5 separate regions of the Homo sapiens genome follow, and regions 1, 2, 3 and 4 are each linked to region 5. Evidence: promoter capture Hi-C in 16 types of primary human blood cells and fetal thymus (Javierre and others, 2016). All regions are on one chromosome and are shown on one strand. The core of a region is centred on a gene start or on the middle of the fragment in contact, and the rest is flanking DNA. Distances in the headings are between cores, read along the strand shown. Region 1 overlaps ILKAP (ILK associated serine/threonine phosphatase). Region 2 overlaps ERFE (erythroferrone). Region 3 has its middle 13 kb from the start of LINC02610. Region 4 overlaps ILKAP (ILK associated serine/threonine phosphatase). Region 5 holds the start of UBE2F-SCLY (UBE2F-SCLY readthrough (NMD candidate)).

Region 1 (3,237 bases), core at 359-2,858, 230 kb before region 5:
AAATGGTCAAAGGATGTATCCTCCCAGTTCAGAGGTAAGGAATACAAATGGCCCATCAACAGAAAGTTGCTGAGGAACTATTTACCTTTTCACCCATCAGATTAGCAACAGTTGGTAACATTGGTGAATGTGTAGCGAAGTAGACTTTCTCATAAAGTGTTTTGGGAGTGAAAATTACAACTTTTTGGGGAACAGATTTTGGCTTCTATCAGATTTAAACTAATATCCTTTGACGAGCAGTCTAGCAGATTAAGCAGGAATACATGTATCAGATTGTTGATTGTGGCGTCACTTATCATATGAAGAACTGGGAAAAGCTTGAACCCATCAGTAAGGATCTGGTCGAATGAGTGGAGATGCTTCCCATGTGTGGCTGTTGGAGAGGATGAATTAGACTTGGGTGTGTTGGCCTGGAGCATGCCTTGATGGGTTATGTGAACACTATATGTGGAGTATTGTGTAGAGTATGACTCTGTCTTCTACAAATTAAAATGCATGAGTCCATGTGCATGAGCATTAAGGAAAGTGGAAAGGATACACTAAACTCATACTGTGGTTGGGGGGTGTGGCGGAACCTGTCCCCCCTTTTTTCTGATAATACCTCTGTGGTGTTTGGAAAACACCTGGATTTATTTTATAGTTGAAAAAATTGAGGTATAAAAAACAATTTAGCCAAAATATTTTAACATCCTTTTTTAACTTTATTGGATACAGCAACCTTTAACCTGAATATGATCAACCCAAGGGTATTTTTCTCAGCATAGTATATAACTTCCAGTAGACTTAGCTCCAGAATGTAGATAACTGAGGAAAAAAAAAAGTTCTAGATGAGATTAACTATGATTAATGGACATTTTTAGTCTTGTATTCTTATTAGGGTTCTAATATTTTTAAGATTAGGGGAGGGGCCTCTTCCAGATTTTTAGGTCAGGGTCACACTTTGTCCAATGATTGCAGCCCCCAATGCTTTGAATTTCAGTTTATTCAAAATAGAATGTAAGGGCCTGGAGCAGTGGGTCACATCTGTAATCCCAGCACTTTGGGATGCTGAGGCAGGAAGATTGCTTGAGTACAGTAGTTCGTGACCAACCTGGGCAACATAGTGAGACCCCGTCTCTACAAAAAGTTAAAAAATTAGCTGGGCATGGTGGTGTATGCCTGTAGTTTCAGCTACTCGGGAATCTGACGAGGGAGGATTGCTTGAGCCCAGAAGGTTGGGGCTGCAGTGAGCTGTGATCACACCACTGCACTCCAACCTGGCTCACAGAGCGAGACTCTTGTCTCAATTTAAAAAAAAAAAAATCTAAGGTTTTGACTAATCAGTAGTTTCCTTATGTATCTATGACCTATAGATTTTTTTTTAAAGAATCCACATACAGACTTCTAAGTTAGATTCTTTTGATGATGCAAAAATTATTTCCAGAGATTTTATAAAATCTCAGGATTATCATCATAGGATTGTTGTAAGGGTAAAATGAGTTGATGTTTATGAAGTTTCTGGAAGGGTGCCCATGTATGGAGGCAGCATAGTACCTCACTAAAAGCACGGACTGCATGGCTTTGAATCCCCACTCCACTCCTTACTGGCTCTGTGATCTTGAACAGGTAATTGACCTCAGTGCCTCAGTTTTTTCATCGGTAAATAATAATAGTACCTATCTCATAAGAATTAAATGAGAAGATGTGTGGAGCTCTTAGAATAGTGCCTGACAGGCAGGCAGTATTATCATTTTTAGAAGCCATTCCCAGTTGTGGCCAGCAAAATGTAGGATGGTCTCATTGTGTTTAATTGAAATACCTCTCATAGTATTCCAGAGTGAGAAAGAAGGTGATAGGCAGTTCTCTGGGGATGGGGCTCAGTTTGGGGCACCATCTGACTGAATTGTAGCCAGAGGAGAGGCGGCCAGGCTAGTATTAATACTAAGCTGTAAGTTGCATTGTGAGGAATGCTTACAAGAACTGAAAATATATTTATTACCTGGGTAAAAGAAGACTTCCTCCCTTGTACAGTGGCAGTGGAAAGACCTGATTTAGATGGGCAAGTTAATTCAAAAGTTAAAATATGACCTGGTACAAGCGGAAGGGTTGTTTGCTCTTCATGTTGGGCTGTTACCTGTAAATGTCCCCTCCCTTGTCCTAAGACATCTGGCTCTGTGACACCACTGAATGCAGCGTGATTGTCTGGAACATCTCATGTGGTTTTTGAGTCTGTCCGGAGAACGGGCGTTGTGATTGTTAGACCCAATGTTTGGGCAAAAGTGACCTACTTCGGGATATTAGGAATTCTTGTAAGTGGATTAATACATTGAGTAATGGTTATCCTAAATACTTTTTTTGGGTGCTGGGGACAGAGTCTGGTTTTGTCCCCCAGGCTGGAGTGCAGTGGCGCTATCTCAGCTCACCGCAACCTCCGCCTCCCAGGTTCAAGCAGTTTTCCTGCTTCAGCCTCCCAAGTAGCTGGGGCTACAGGCACCCGCCACCATGCCTAGCTAATTTTTGTATTTCTGGAGAGACAGGGTTTCACCATGTTGGTCAGGCTCATCTTGAACTGCTGACCTCAGTCCTGACCTTGACCTCCCAAAGTGCTGGGATTATAGGTGTGAGCCACCACACCTGGCCATACTAAATACTTTTTAATGGCTTTCTTCTGCTTCTTGTATACTTCTAATAGAGTCTTTATGTCACTTGTAAGAAAAGTGAAAGTATTTGCAATTCCTTAATTTGTTTAGGGTCATCCTGAAGGATTAGAATACATTTTCCCATTTGTATTAGGGATATAAAGCAAAATAGTTATTTTTTGTTAACTCAGGAATTTCTTGTGTATTTTAGGTACTTCTGACGCAAAGACCCCGGGAGAAATTTCATTCCCTTAAGTTTATAAATTTTTAATTAAAGCTTTTGTTTTTAAAAGAAGAAAGTTGATACCCAGCTCATTTCTAAATGGAGGCAAAAAGATGATAGGGATGACCCTCTTGGGGGATATAAATTTATTTGTTTAGTTGAATTGGTGTTTGGCCTGGCACAATAGCTCATACCTGTAATCCCAGCACTTTGGGAGGCTGAGGCGGGTGGACCACTTGAGGCCAGGAGTTTGAGACCAACCTGGCCAACATGGTGAAACCCCGTCTCTACTAAAAATACAAAAATTAGACCAGACATGGTGGCTCACCCCTGTAATCCCAGCGCTTTGGGAGGCTGAGGCAGGCAGAACACTTGAGGTCAGGAGTTCAAGACTAG
Region 2 (3,313 bases), core at 230-2,729, 200 kb before region 5:
AGGAAAGCGGCCTCCACGCGCGGCGCCCGCGGCCCCGGGGCCAGGGGCGCGGCCAGCAGTGCCAGCACGTCCCCCACCACGTCGTCGTCGTCCTCCCCGGCGGTGGCCGAGACCGGGGCGAGGCTCGCAGCGACCGGCCCGGCGGGGCCACACGTACAGGGTTCGGGCTCCGCGCGCTCCCGCTGCCGCACCGCACCTGGCACAGAGCGAGCGGTGGCCGCGCGCCAGGGACCCCTCACCCGCCCGCCGCGTGGGTCCAGCCCTGAACGACAGGTGCTAGCGAGACCAGGGGCCTGCCGGGCGCAGGGGTGGGGCGAGGGCGACGTCCCCTCGGCCTGAAGGGCCTCGGAGTCTTTGCGTCCTGACCCTGCAGCGGCTCCCGTTTCCCTCAAGATTTGGGAAGCTCGGGCAGAAGTGCCCCAGCGCCCTTGGCCTCCAGCCTCACCTCTACCCCACCCACATTTTCCAAAGACGCTGGGGGTAAAATAAGCGATTGCAGCTTTACTGGAAGTACAAGGAGGTTCTTCAGCGCAGAAGGTGCTATATTTAAACGAACAGGACATTGAACTAAAAGGAAAAAACGGCTCAATTCTAATGACTAATGTGAGCCGCCGCTCTGCAGGAGGCCTCAGTGTGGACTCCGCGGCTCCACTCAGCCCTGCCTCCTCCAGGGCAGGCTGCCCCAGCCCTGGCCAGTGGTGACTGTGGGTGCCAGGCTGAGCTCCACCTGGTGCTGCCCCATACACTAGCCTCTGCCTTTCGCTGGGCTCTCCTGACTTCCAGGCAGGGCATAGGCGCTGGTCCCTGAGCACCCGCCATACTGAGTGGCCAGGTCCACCTTCCTCTGTGAAGCCTTCTCCTGGCCATGGTTCCCAACCCCCAGCCATCCCCAGCCCTGACCCTTGGCAGACATGGGCCAAGATGGGGCAGAGACTGGACCTGGCCAGCTCTACTGTCCTTGAGTCCAGCCCAGAGCAGGTGCCTCCTTGGGTGCCCGCCGAAGTGTTGAGGTTGGCCCTGTCAGCTCCTCGGGACACCCTCCCAGGCCCTGCTCACAGCGGGGTGTGTGTGTCCCAGCCGGTGCACACCCCTACCTTTCAGCAGCAGCTGGAACTCCTTCAGCAGCGCCTCGGGTGGGATGATGGGGCCTGGGGGGCCCTGGGGACCGGGAGGCCCAGGGGGCCCTGGCAAGCCGAACTGAAAGGGAACCTTGGCAGTGAGGACATGTGAGGAGCAGGCTGGGAGCCACAGCATCCCCTGTGCAAGCTCTTGCCACTAAGAGGCAGGCAACAGAGCTCCCCAGTGGGCTCCAACCTCCAGCCAAGGATCTACCTCAGTGAAAGCTTCTCCTGGAGTGAGTACAAGGACTGTGCTGGAGGTGGGGGCCCTCGGGGCGGGGCTTTGGCAGGGAAGGACTCTGCTCTGAGTGGGGAGGCAGAGGGCTGAAGCCCGCTCCTGCGGCCAGGCCTCGTGGAGGGAAGAAGACTCTAGGCTGCTTTTGGGGACTTGCATCTCAGGGTCTGCACTGGGCCCGAGTCCACCATCAGCAGGTCCCCACTAGGCTGGGTTGGGACCCGAACCAGAAGCCAGTGAGCCCCCTGTGGGGAGAAGCTTAGGGCAGGGCCAGGAGGCTGGGCAGAGGTAGAAGGCCAGGCCACGAGGACAGCGCGGCCTGTGCACCTGCCTCATGCACTCCGAGCTGGCCTTCCATCGTGTGTTCAGATCCCAGGCAGGTGATACTGGCCCCCAGGGGACAGAGAAGCCCACACCCCGTATTTTCCATTTTGGGGGCTCCAAGCAGGAGGCAGCACCAGGACCAAGCACCAAGTTTCTGCCCAGGCCAAGACCTAAGGCTGAGTGAGGGTGAGAGGGACCCTGTGCCCCTAGTCCCTGGGAGCCAGGCACTCCTGCAGGCCCCTCCAGTGTGGACAAGGTTCTCACCACAGCCTGGGCTAGCCCAGCCTCCCTGGCCTGGATGCAGAGGGAGGAGAAAAGAGGGAGAGCCTGGCATTTTAGGGGTGTGGGGAAATGGTTGGGACCAGGCCCCTAACTCGGGGCTCCCCCTGGGGCTGCCTGGGTTCTCTCTGTTCTCTGTCCCCAGGCCGAGGCGTGAGGGGTGTGCTATTGGAAATGTTCAGGATGTAGGAGTGGGAGTGGATGAGGAGCGAGGAGGCGGAACCCCCCACGGCCTGGCACTGACGGGATGCCGGCCTCACCTTCAGCTTCTTGGCCTTGCCCCTGCTCCTCTTCTTGCCATTGACACCCTTGTCACTCTGCCTGACGAAGAGCATCCAGGCGTCCCGGGGGTCGACGCTGTGTGCACGCTCAGCGGTGGGCTCCTGGAACACAGCCAGCCCAGCAGGGCGGTTGGCCTCACTGGGCTCCTACCAAGCAGGTGGGACACTTTGCAGGAGGTGACTGTGTGGCCTTCTGTACTCTGGGACCCTGGTCCTTGTCACCTGTGGTGCCCTCAAAGGCAGCTCCCAAAGGGGCCCCAACCCCTCACAGCTTCTCCCCCGGCCCGTGGAGGATGACTCCTAGGGAACGGGCCACACCTCGGCCTGGACTTGGCACTCATGGGAGAGGCAGACCCAAGATGCCTGGAGGGAAAATGGGGTGCAGGGCTTGGATATCGGGGTGAATCCCCGTACTGCTGGGCCTCCTTCCTCCAGAGGAGCTGCAGTGATCACACCGTCCTCCAGTCACCAGGAGGATCCGACCACTGGAGCACCCATAGGTGCTCAGGAAGAAGCAACTGTGATTATCAGGGAGCCCAACTACTAGCCAACCCTCCTCTGTCCATCCTCCCCCAGTGTCAGAAGTTCTAAGGAGGCAAATTCAGCTCTCACAGCTGCCTCGGGTTACAGTCCAGTGGGGGAGAGGACCAGGCGAGCTGTCATGACGCGAGGCCTCTGTGTGAGACTTTCATTTCCTCAGCACTTCTGAGACACTGACACATGGACAGTGATGCTTCCGGAAGTTCCCATTCCTGTCCGCGCTGCATCCTGACTGATGCTGACACTGAGCACAGTTTTGGGAGGGACCTTCCTGGGAGAGGCCTTGGGCTATCTGGGCTCCAGGCAAGGCTGCCAGCTGGGAAGGAAACCGGCCCAAGAGGGCTTAGATGAGGTCATGGGTGCTGACGCTGGGGGCTGACGGAAGGACCCTGGGATTTTAGAGCTGACTGGGCCCTTTTATCAGAGACAAAGCCGGCTGCCAAGTCACTGCCTTTGGTTCCTGGCTGATCTGGGGGGATGCAGGGCCTTCTTTTGGGAGCTGGCTGACCAATGCGCAGGCCAGGGTGTTGTGGTGG
Region 3 (3,481 bases), core at 339-2,838, 250 kb before region 5:
GAGCTACCCTCTCTGCTGAGAGTTTCAGAGACCTGCAGAGACCTTGGGACTACCGGTTGCAGAGAGGAGCAACCCACTCCAGGGCCTCTTCTCTGCTAGGAGCTGGGCAGACACTGGGACAATCCCCCTGCAGAGAGGAGTCACCAGGGCTTCCTTTCTGCTGAGAGATGAACACTCAACAGGACGACTTGCTTACAGAGAGGAGCTACCCGCTGCGGGGCTCCTTCAGGCTGTTCTAACAGTCAATAAAGCTCCTCTTTGTCGTGCTCACCCTCTGCTTGTCTGCGTATCTCATTCTTCCTGGATGCAGAACGAGAACTCGGGCAAAGGTGCCACCGGCCACAGAGGTTTCCAGTCAAAAGTGACACCCCAAAGATCCTGTAACAGGAGGATCACTTGAGCCCAGGAGTTTGAGGCCACAGATGCAGTGAGCTATGATTGATTGCATCACTGCATTCAGCCTGGGTGACAGAGAAAGACTCTGTCTCAGAAGAAGACAAAAAAGAAAGCCTCACAATAAAACAAAATTTTCACGGTCACAAATTCTGTTTAACTGTTTCCAATCTTTGGAAACTTTTTTTTTTCTTTAGTTGCAAAAGTTTGATTTTATTGCATTGCTGCAGAAAAGTATGCATGAAAAATAAGGACAATTTTTTTTGGAATACATGAGCAGTCACAATGAATTCATTTGCCATTAGAATATTGAAGAAAAATGTTTTGTCAGGTGCAGTGGCTCATGCCTATAATCTCAGCAATGCAGAGGATCCCTTGAGGCCAGGAGTTCAAGACCAGCCTGGGCAACTTAGTGAGATGCCCCCTCCCCACTGCCCCATTTCTGAAACAAAAAAAGAAAAGAAAACAAGAAAACTCTAGAAATGTCCATTGTGTGAAGTAGATTCCCTAAAATCTAAATCTTTTCCTTTGTGATCTATTCAAGTATGTGCTCTATTCAGATCATTTTTACTTTATGACAAAGTAGCAGCCACAGTGGATAATTATTGCAATTCATTTGAAATGGCATCTTCTCACTTTTTTTTTTTTTTTTTTGAGATGGAGTCTCACTCTTGTCACCCAGGCTGGAGTGCAGTGGCACAATCTTGGCTCACTGCAACCTCCGCCTCCCGGGTTCAAGCAGTTCTCCTGCCTCAGCCTCCTGAGTAGCTGGGATTACAGGCATGTGCCACCACACCCAGCTAATTTTTGTGTTTTTAGTAGAGATGGGGTTTCACCATGTTGGCCAGGTTGGTCTTGAACTCCTGACCTCAGGTGATCCGCCTGCCTTGGCCTCCCAAAGTGCTGGGATTACAGGCATGAGCCACTGTGCCTGGCTGGCATCTTCTCACTTTTTTGCTCAAACTTATGTTCGCTAGTTACTGAAACTTGTAAAATTTCTCTTTAATGTTTTGAAGCAGATCCTTTAGTTAGCTGACTTTGATAACAACTCTGTTCTGATAATATCAACATTAGAGGACTCAGTCATTTTCAGTAGCCAAAATACTGTATTTCTAGCCAAACTTATAGTTGTTTCCTATAATTTTTATATATTTCTGCAAGTATTTTTATTCTTCTCCTGAACATTGTACCTCTTGGCTTTTATTTCTTATTTATTTTTATTTTAAAAAATTATTTTGTTGAGAGAATCTTGTCCAGGCTGGTCTCCAACTCTTGGCCTCAAGCAATCCTCCTGCCTTGGCCTCTCAAAGTACTGGCATTACAGACATGAGCCACTGCATTCAGCCACTTGGCTTTTTAGATACTGAAACCTCCACCTCCCAGGCTCAAGCAATCCTTCCACCTCAGCCTCCCAAGTAGCTGGGACTACAGGTGCATGCCACCATGTCTGGCTAATTTTTGTATTTTTTTGGTAGAGCTGGGGTTTCTCCACGTTGCCCAGCCTGGTGGGCAGATAACTCGGGAGCTCAAGTTATCTGCCTGTCTTGGCTTCCCAAGTGCTGGGATTACAGACGTGAGTAACCATGCCCAGTCTCAATACCATATTTATCTAAAAACTTTTAGTATGAATTTAAAATATATTTTAATATAGTATTTCATTGTGGAAATTATAATATTGATTTACATTAATTAACTTAATATGAATTATAATATTTAACAAGTAGGTGTACATAAAATTTTGTATCAAAAATACAGAAATCTCTGGTGTGTACTGAGAGTAAAAGAAAAAAATACAGAAGCCAGTTGGTGGGAATGAAAAATGGTGTAGTCACTATGGAAAACAGTTTAGTGGTTCTTCAAAACACTACACATAGAATTATCATATGACCCAGAAATTCCACTCCTAGGTATATACCCAAAAGAATTGAAAATGGGCTGGGTGCGGTGGCTCACGCCTGTAATCCCAGCACTTTGGGAGGCCAAGGCGGGTGGATCACTTGAGGTCAGGAGTTCAAGACCAGCCTGGCCAGTATGGTGAAACCCTGTCTGTACTAAAAATACAAAAATTAGCTGGCCATGGTGGTGGGTGCCTGTAGTCCCAGCTACTTGGGAGGCTGAGGCCGAAGAATCTCTTGAACCTGGGAGGCGGAGGTTGCAATGAGCTAAGATTGCAATCTCAGCTTGCTGCAACCTCTGCCTCCCAGGTTCAAGTAATTCTCCTGCCTCAGCCTCCCAAGTAGCTGGAATTACAGGCACCCACCACCACGCCCGGCTAATTTTTGTATTTTTAGTAGAGATGGGGTTTCACCATGTTGGTCAGGCTGCTCTCAAACTCCTGACCTTGTGATCCACCCACCTCAGCCTCCCAAAGTGCTGGGATTACAGGTGTGAGCCACCGCGCCCGGCCTCAATCTTTCAATAACATTTTCGTCTCTCTTTTTAAGCACTCATCAACAACCTCGAGGCCCGTCGAGGTTCCACTAACAGTCTTCTCAAGGCCATTCCAGCCTTTGCCTGATGCCCAGTCCCAAAGACAATACCATATGTTTTGGGTTGGGTTTTTTTTGTTTTGTTTTGTTTTTTAGGCAAGATCTCATTCTGCTGCCCAAGCTAGAGTGCAGTGGTGTGATCATGGCTACCTATAGTCTCAACCTCCTGGGTTCAAGCAAACCTCCCATCTCAGCCTCCTCAGTAGCTAGGAACACAGCATGCACCACCATGCTGGCTGATGTTTTTAGTTTTATAGAGATGGGGGTCTCACTGTGTTGCCTAGGCAAGTCTCAAACTCCTGGGCTCAAGCAGTCCACTAACCTTGGCCTCCCAAAGTGTTGGGATTACAGGCGTGAGTCACCATGCCCAGCCTGTTTTGAGTCTTTGATGTACCCACTCTGGGTACCAAATTTCTCTTCCAGTTACTATTGTGTAACAAATTACCTCCAAATTTAGCAGCTTCAAAAAAGCAAGGGTGCTTTGTTTTTTTTTTGTTTTTGTTTTTGTTTTCTTTTTTTTCTCGTGGTTTTGTAGGTCAGGAATTCACAAAGGGCTTAGCTGGGCAGGCCTTCCTTGAGGTCACTCAGGAGGTTGTAGT
Region 4 (3,333 bases), core at 203-2,702, 210 kb before region 5:
TTTCTTTCTTTCTTTTTTTTTTTTGAGAGAGAGAATCTTGATCTGTTGCCTGGAGTGCAGTGGCACGATCACAGCTCACCGCAGCCTTGACCTCTGAGGTTGAAGCGATCCTCCAGCCTCAGCCTCCCAAGTAGCTGGGACCACAGGCATGTGCCACTGTGCCTGGCTATTTTTTTATTTTTTGGTAGAGACAGGGTCTCTGTCTGTGTTTTCCAGGCTGAGCTAAGTGATCCTTCTGCCTTGGCCTCCCAGAGTGCAGGGAATACAGGTGTGAGCCACTGCACCCTGCCGAGACTCATTTCTTACCAGGCTTTGAACCATGTTATAGGCCAGCAGTTGTACAGAGTCACCAATATTCTGAACCTGCGTATTTTTTTACGGTGTTATTTCTGTATATTTCCTATAAACTGGAAGTTAGGTGTAAGACCTTCTTTAGATTCAGATGAGATGTTTTTAGCAATGTTTTATGGGGGATGCTGTATACTCAGTAGTCCTTCACTTCAGTAGGCACATAATGTGACCCTTAATTAAGTTGCCAAATCCCAGCACTTGGCTCCGGTGGTGACAGCCGGATGCTCCTGTTGCCTTGCGTCATCAGCAGGTAATCTGGGGAGGTTCACTGGTACCTTGTGAATATTCTGTTTCCTGTCAGCCTTTCACCTAATGGTCTTAGCATCCCTAAATCATTATTTCATCAGGGATGTCAAAGATGATTTCCATATTCTGTGATTCTTTTCACATGTATTAGCGGGCATTCTGTAAAGAAACTTCTTATCATCAATAAGAGAACATCATAGATTCTTCTAAAAAAGCAGGGTCAATGTTTCATTCTGTCCTTTATCCATTTGAAAGGAAGATAGTCACCTATAGTTGTGGAAATCAGTGTTTTCCTTTCACTCCTCTGCTTCTTTCCCTCCATCCTTCCTTTGTGAATCACTGTGTGCCAACTGACTATTCATTGTGTTGTAGTCACAGTCATGGGGTTTTCTGCTGCTCACTTGATTTCAGATATGGCCAGTGGAAACTCCTGCTGGCTGGTTCCTGTGTCCTTTTCATATGTGTGTATTAATGTTTAAGAGCCAAAATCCAGGCTGGGTGCAGTGGCTCACATCTGTAATCCCAGCACTTCGGGAGGCTGAAGTGGGTGAATCTCTTGAGCCTAGGAGTTCAAGACCAATTTGGCAACTGTGGTGAAACCCCATCTCTACAAGAAATACCAAAAAATAAAAAAGAGAAATTAGCCAGGTGGGGTGGCACACACTTGTGGTCCTACTCAGGAGGCTGAGGTGGGAGGATTGCTTGAGCCTGGGAGGCAGAGGTTGTAGTGAGCAGAGATCATACCATTGCTTTCAAGCTTGAGTAACAGAGCAAGACTTTTGCTTAAAAAAAAATAATAATAATTGATTTACATCAGTGTAGGGAATAAATTTTTTTAAAAAGCCCAAATCCATGTTCTCGGGTGCTCAGTTCAGTTGGAGTGTCATTAGTTCTATGTCCACTCAAGACATGCAAAGCTAGGAAACACAACACATTTTAAATCGCAAGCTTGGAGTGCTATTTCTTACTCATATTTAACGTTACAGAGTTTTCTCTTCTTTGGTTTAATATTTGTAGCTCGTTTCTCTTAATGCTAGAAATCTTGGTTCTTAACAACAGTATATTTATTTGTTAAAACAGTTTCATAGTATCAAAATTATCACTACTAGGGGAGCAGAGGGCTCACACCTGTAATTCCAGTGCATCGGGAAGCTGAGGCAGGAGGATCGCTCCACGTCAGGAGTTTGAGAGAAGCCTGGGCAACGCAGTGAGACCTTATCTCTACAAAAAATAAAAATGGCACCATGGAGCCAGTTCTGGTGGTGTGCGCCTGTGGTCCCAGCCACTCGGGTGGCTGAGACAGAAGGGTCACTTGAGTCTAGGAGTTCTAGGATACAGTGAGCTATGATTGTGCCACTGCACTCCAGCCTAGTTGACAGAGTGAGACCCTGTCTCAAAAAATAAAAATATCCTAACTTTAGTTTGTGTTCCTTGCTGTTCTCTTGTCCTTAGATATACCTCACTAAAGCAGTACTGTTGGCACTGTGCGCAAAAGTGAAATAACTGTTTTTACTGTGGTTATTTTGCCACTTTGGTTATTAATATTATTAGTTTTCCATTTATTTTTATTCAGTTTATTGTTTTCAGTTTATCCAATTTATAAAGGGCTTTTTTCCCTTTATAAATTACAGGGAGAAAATGAGAACCCCTGTGCATGGCTGGTGGGAATGTGAAATGGTGTAGCCACTATGGAAAACAGTATGGCAGTTCCTCAGACATTAAACACAGAGTTAGCATGTGATCTGCAGTTCCACCTCTGCGTATATACCCAAAAGAACTCAAAGCAGGGACACGAACAGATATTTGCATACCTGTGTTCACAGCAGCATTATTCACCATGGGGAAAAGGGGGAAGCAACCCAAATGTTCATTGACAGATGAATAGATAAGCAACGTGAGATGTCTATATAACAGAATATTATTTAACCTCAAAAAGGAAGGAAATTCTGACCCATGCTACAAAATGGATGAACCTGAGGACTTTATGCTAAGTAAAAGAAGCCAGATGCAAAAAGACAAACACTAGAATTTCACTCATAGGAGGTACCAGTCAAGTTCACAGAAAGTAGAATGGTGGTTATTGGGGGGTGTGGGGTATGAATTCTGGGGAATGAATCGTGGGGTTAGTGTTTAATGGGAACAATCTCAGTCTGGGAAGGTAGAAAAAGTCCTGGGGATGGATGGTGGTGCTGATAACACAACAGTGTGAATATATTTAATGCTGCTGAACTGTACACTTAAAAATGGTTAAGATGGTAAATGTCATGTATATTTTACCACAATAAAAAACATGAAAAACTCCCTGTTGCATGCTTCAAAATCTAAATTGAGTAAAAAGACATTTAGAGATGTCATGCTTTCATCCCTGTCCCCTTCATCCTATTTCTTGATTCTTTCCAGTATTTCTTAACAAAAGTATGTAAATCTTTGTGCATTATTTTTTTCTACTTTCTTACATTGAAGGTAGCTATGTAGCAGTGAATTTTTCTGAGAAGATTAAGACAAGTTTTATTTTTATTTTACAAGGAAGGCAGCTGAACAGATGGGAAGTTTACATATAGCATTTAAATTTAAATGTCAGTACTGTGTGCCTAGAACTTGATCAAGTGCAGGCCTCTGATAACCAAAAGTAACTGTTCTAGCATTGTACCTTTGGTTATCTCTGTAGCACTCATTGTATTAATATGTTGGATTTAGGCATCCACCAGTCTTTGGATGGTCAGGAGATGGAGCTTC
Region 5 (3,193 bases), core at 660-3,159:
TGGTTTAAAACAAAACTTCCTCTTTCCTGCAAATTACGCTCTAAGGCAGCATTTCGGTAACAGATCAGCTGTTCTGAACAGCATTCTCAGTTTCTAAATTCCACAAGTTGTAATTGGCCCAGTTAGGTTCCTCCTCTGGGTGGGACCTGCTTTCAGACAGCCCGGAGAAGAGCATCTGGTGTGCAACTTACTAGTGCCATCAAGTGATATTTACTCAGCATCCCTGCAAGCAATGGCAAAACCAGGCCATGTCACTTGTGCAGGGACACCAGGGGCCAGTCAGCTCAAGGTGAGGGGGCTACTTATTTACAATTCCTTCCGAATGGAGACGTCTCAATCCAAGCATAAAGGATGGGACTGCGGGTCACTAGGGGACACTCAACTTCCCCAGCCAAAGGGGCCCCGATCAGGGCACAACAAAGTCCACATCCCACTCTTCTACAGAATGCCAGTGCCCAGGAACCTCCTGCTCGGCACAGGAGTACGCTGGTTGACCGACCATCTTTGGAGCCCAGCCCCTTTTACGTTCAGCAGTAAACCTGCCCCTTCCTGCACTGCCTACTACCTGAAAGGCAGGTATGTCCAGGTGGGGGGTCCTCAAGCCCCACAGCACTAAGCTTGGTGTGATTCTGTCTCTCAATCTCTCTCTCTCTCCCACCTCTATGCTCCCCCTTGCCTTCATCTCACTCCTCAGCCAGGATTCCTCTGCACCAGGCAGGCCAGTTTCCTCTTTGTTCCTTCACAACACCCTGTTCATTTCCAGAAGCTTCTATTCAGTCTGATACCCAGGTCTAGAATGCCCTCCTTCCCTTCACAAACGAATCCTACCCCTTCCTTAAGGGGAAGATTCCTACCTACATCCCAACATCTCCTCCTCCAAGAAGCTTTCTCTGGCTATTCCAACCCATCCTGCCCCCACTTCCAGGCGGTCGGGAATGCAGAGTGGGGGGACCCAATTCTCTCCTGTGACAGATGAGGAAACTGAGCCCAGGGAGGGGAAGGCCACACCCAAGATGACACACCAGCAGAACTAGGTCTGGAACCAAGACTCTGCTGCACTAATTGTTCCAAGATGCCCTTCCTTCCTCGTCTCCTTTGCTGTGGTAAAAATTTTCCAAACTAGCCTGGCCGCCCCCAGTTGTAGGTAAGCGTCCATACTTACTCTTCCCGCTGCAGGTACGAGGACCGGGCGCGAGTTGTCACTCCCCTCACCTCCCCCGCTCCTCACGGCCTAGCGCGACTCCTGCCCCGATCGGGAGTCCAGTCCCGGTTTCTGCGGCCACGTCGGGCCGGTGACCTTGGCCAGGCGCTGGACGCCCCGCTTCCTCCGTACAAGGCAGGCAGCCGATCCCGCGAGTGGGGCGTGAGCGCGGCCAGGTCTGTGCCACGCTCGGCCCAGGGCCTGGTTCACACCAGGTGCTCGGCGCGGGCCGTCCCCCGCCGCCGCCGCCGCGGTCACTCACTGCCGGGCGAGGCCAGCGCCCCGGCCGCCGACGCCGCCTCCGACCCCCGGCTCGCGGCCCGCGGCCCGCGGCCCCTTCCCATTCACGCCGCTCGGCCTCGCGTCCGGGTGCCCGCGCCCGCCAGGCCCCCGGCGTGAGGAACCCGGCGGGCCCGAGGCGGCCCCGCCACCGCCCGCGCCCTCCGCCCGGCCCGCAGGCCAGCCCGTGCACCGGCGGCCGCACCTCGCCCCGCCGCAGAGCCGCACGGTCGCTCCTCACCTGGGCTCCCCGAGACAGGCGAGGCGGGCCCGGCGCCCAACACCATGCCCGGTCCGGGCGGCTGCTGCGAGACGCGGCCCCTCACAGCCGCACCGGCTCCCGGCGGCGGGACCGGAAGTGGCGGGGCGGGGACTCGGCCGCTCTCGCCCGCGGCAGCCGAGACAGCAGCGGGCGCTTTAAAAAAAAAATTCAAAGTCGCGAAAAACTTTATTTGGAACCAGACACGCGAACAGCGGCGTGCGCCGATCGGGACTGGGCTGGGCGACGGGCCTCTCGGACCTCGCTCATTGGCAGAGGGCGCGGCCAGGGGGCGGGCACGGATTTCGCAACCGCCGCTGATTGGCGAGTAGCGTTAGGGGCGGGGATTCCGAGTTGGCTCTGGAGCCCGAGCGCCGGAGGGCTGGGGGTTTTGCACCTGGTTCCAACACGGGTTCACTTCGTGGTCTGCAGGGTTTAGGGGCACGGAGGAGCCCGGGCTATCCTTCCCTGAAGGAGCGGCCTCCGTGGCTGGAGCTCCCGCTGTCCAGCGCCGCACCTGGAGTGCAAAGGACTGGACAGGCCCCCGCAGCCTGCAGTGCAGGCGGTGAGGGAGACCGGGCGGTCAGACACGCAAGCCACGACCAACCCCAAACCGTGTGCTGCGCCCACAGGCCCCACTGTTCTTGTCATGTCCCTTTTATTCCTTCTTTTCTCTCTTAAATGTGTTTAAAGTACCTTAAAAATCCATTTCAACTTGTCCTCTTTTGGGCGCCCAGATTCATCCCGCGCCCATTAGCGTCCTGTGTGATTGACGAGGGGCCGTCCTGGGCGTCAGGCAGGCCCCTGGAGGAGTGGGCCATTAGAAAGATGAGGTTCAGCATGGAAACGGTCAGAAAGAGACAAGGAGTTAGACTTTCATTTCGAAAAACCCCACTGAGAGGTTTCTAACAGTGGAGTGACTATCAGGTTTTCTTCCTAAAGGAGGCTGGCGGGCCCGGTGGCTCACGCCTGTAATCCTAGCACTTTGGGAGGCCAAAGTGGGAGGATCCCATGAGCCCAAGAGTTTAAGACCAGCCTCCTGATGGTGGCAAGACCCCATCGCTACAAAAAAAGAAAAAAAAAATTAGCCGCGTGGTGGCGCGCGCCTGTAGTCCCAGCTACTCAGGAGGCTGGGATGGGAGGATCACCTGAGCCCAGGAGGTTGAGGCTGCAGTGAGCCGTGATCGCACCACTGCACTCCAGCTTGGGTGACAGGGCAGACCCTGTCCCCATAATAATAATAAAGGCTTTGGCTCTAAGTGAGTCGGTGGGAATGGAGTCAGGAAAACTGGTCAAGAACACAACTCAGCCGGGCGCAGTGGCTCAGGCCTGTAATCCCAGCACTTTGGGAGGCCGAGGCAGACAGATCACCTGAGGTCAGGAGTTCAAGACCAGCCTGGCCAACATGGCAAAACCCCATCTCTACTAAAAATACAAAAAAGCCGGGCGTGGTG

What was found. Contacts are between HindIII fragments. The CHiCAGO score rates a contact against its expected background, and 5 or more counts as called.
Region 1: a fragment that was not itself captured here is called in contact with the fragment with the promoter of UBE2F-SCLY in region 5 in 11 of 17 cell types (activated CD4 T cells, naive CD4 T cells, total CD4 T cells and 8 more); the score reaches 11.6 in activated CD4 T cells.
Region 2: a contact is called between a fragment that was not itself captured here and the fragment with the promoter of UBE2F-SCLY in region 5, in 2 of 17 cell types (activated CD4 T cells and erythroblasts). The highest score is 6.1, in activated CD4 T cells.
Region 3: a fragment that was not itself captured here is called in contact with the fragment with the promoter of UBE2F-SCLY in region 5 in 5 of 17 cell types (total CD4 T cells, total B cells, activated CD4 T cells and 2 more); the score reaches 5.8 in total CD4 T cells.
Region 4: a contact is called between a fragment that was not itself captured here and the fragment with the promoter of UBE2F-SCLY in region 5, in 1 of 17 cell types (naive CD4 T cells). The highest score is 5.0, in naive CD4 T cells.

What each region holds. Positions count from the first base shown.
Region 1 is chr2:238,196,303-238,199,539 of GRCh38, reverse strand. All of the region lies in intron 1 of ILKAP (ILK associated serine/threonine phosphatase), which reads left to right. Among named protein-coding and RNA genes, the nearest start is that of ILKAP, 5.8 kb to the left of the region's middle. The HindIII fragment of the contact is 2,578 bases long and covers 320-2,897 here.
Region 2 is chr2:238,160,620-238,163,932 of GRCh38, reverse strand. It overlaps ERFE (erythroferrone), which reads right to left. Exons shown (of 8, transcript NM_001291832.2): 2 at 2,217-2,339; 3 at 1,095-1,197; 4 at 1-196. Among named protein-coding and RNA genes, the nearest start is that of ERFE, 3.3 kb to the right of the region's middle. RefSeq lists an enhancer at 275-775. The HindIII fragment of the contact is 268 bases long and covers 1,346-1,613 here.
Region 3 is chr2:238,217,432-238,220,912 of GRCh38, reverse strand. No RefSeq gene overlaps it. Among named protein-coding and RNA genes, the nearest start is that of LINC02610, 13 kb to the left of the region's middle. The HindIII fragment of the contact is 7,996 bases long and covers 1-3,481 here.
Region 4 is chr2:238,176,859-238,180,191 of GRCh38, reverse strand. All of the region lies in intron 9 of ILKAP (ILK associated serine/threonine phosphatase), which reads left to right. Among named protein-coding and RNA genes, the nearest start is that of ERFE, 20 kb to the right of the region's middle. The HindIII fragment of the contact is 191 bases long and covers 1,357-1,547 here.
Region 5 is chr2:237,965,661-237,968,853 of GRCh38, reverse strand. It overlaps UBE2F-SCLY (UBE2F-SCLY readthrough (NMD candidate)), which reads right to left and starts at 1,909. Exons shown (of 19, transcript NR_037904.1): 1 at 1,722-1,909. UBE2F (ubiquitin conjugating enzyme E2 F (putative)) reads right to left here and starts at 1,840. Exons shown (of 10, transcript NM_080678.3): 1 at 1,722-1,840. RefSeq lists a silencer at 1,617-1,796. The HindIII fragment of the contact is 5,181 bases long and covers 887-3,193 here.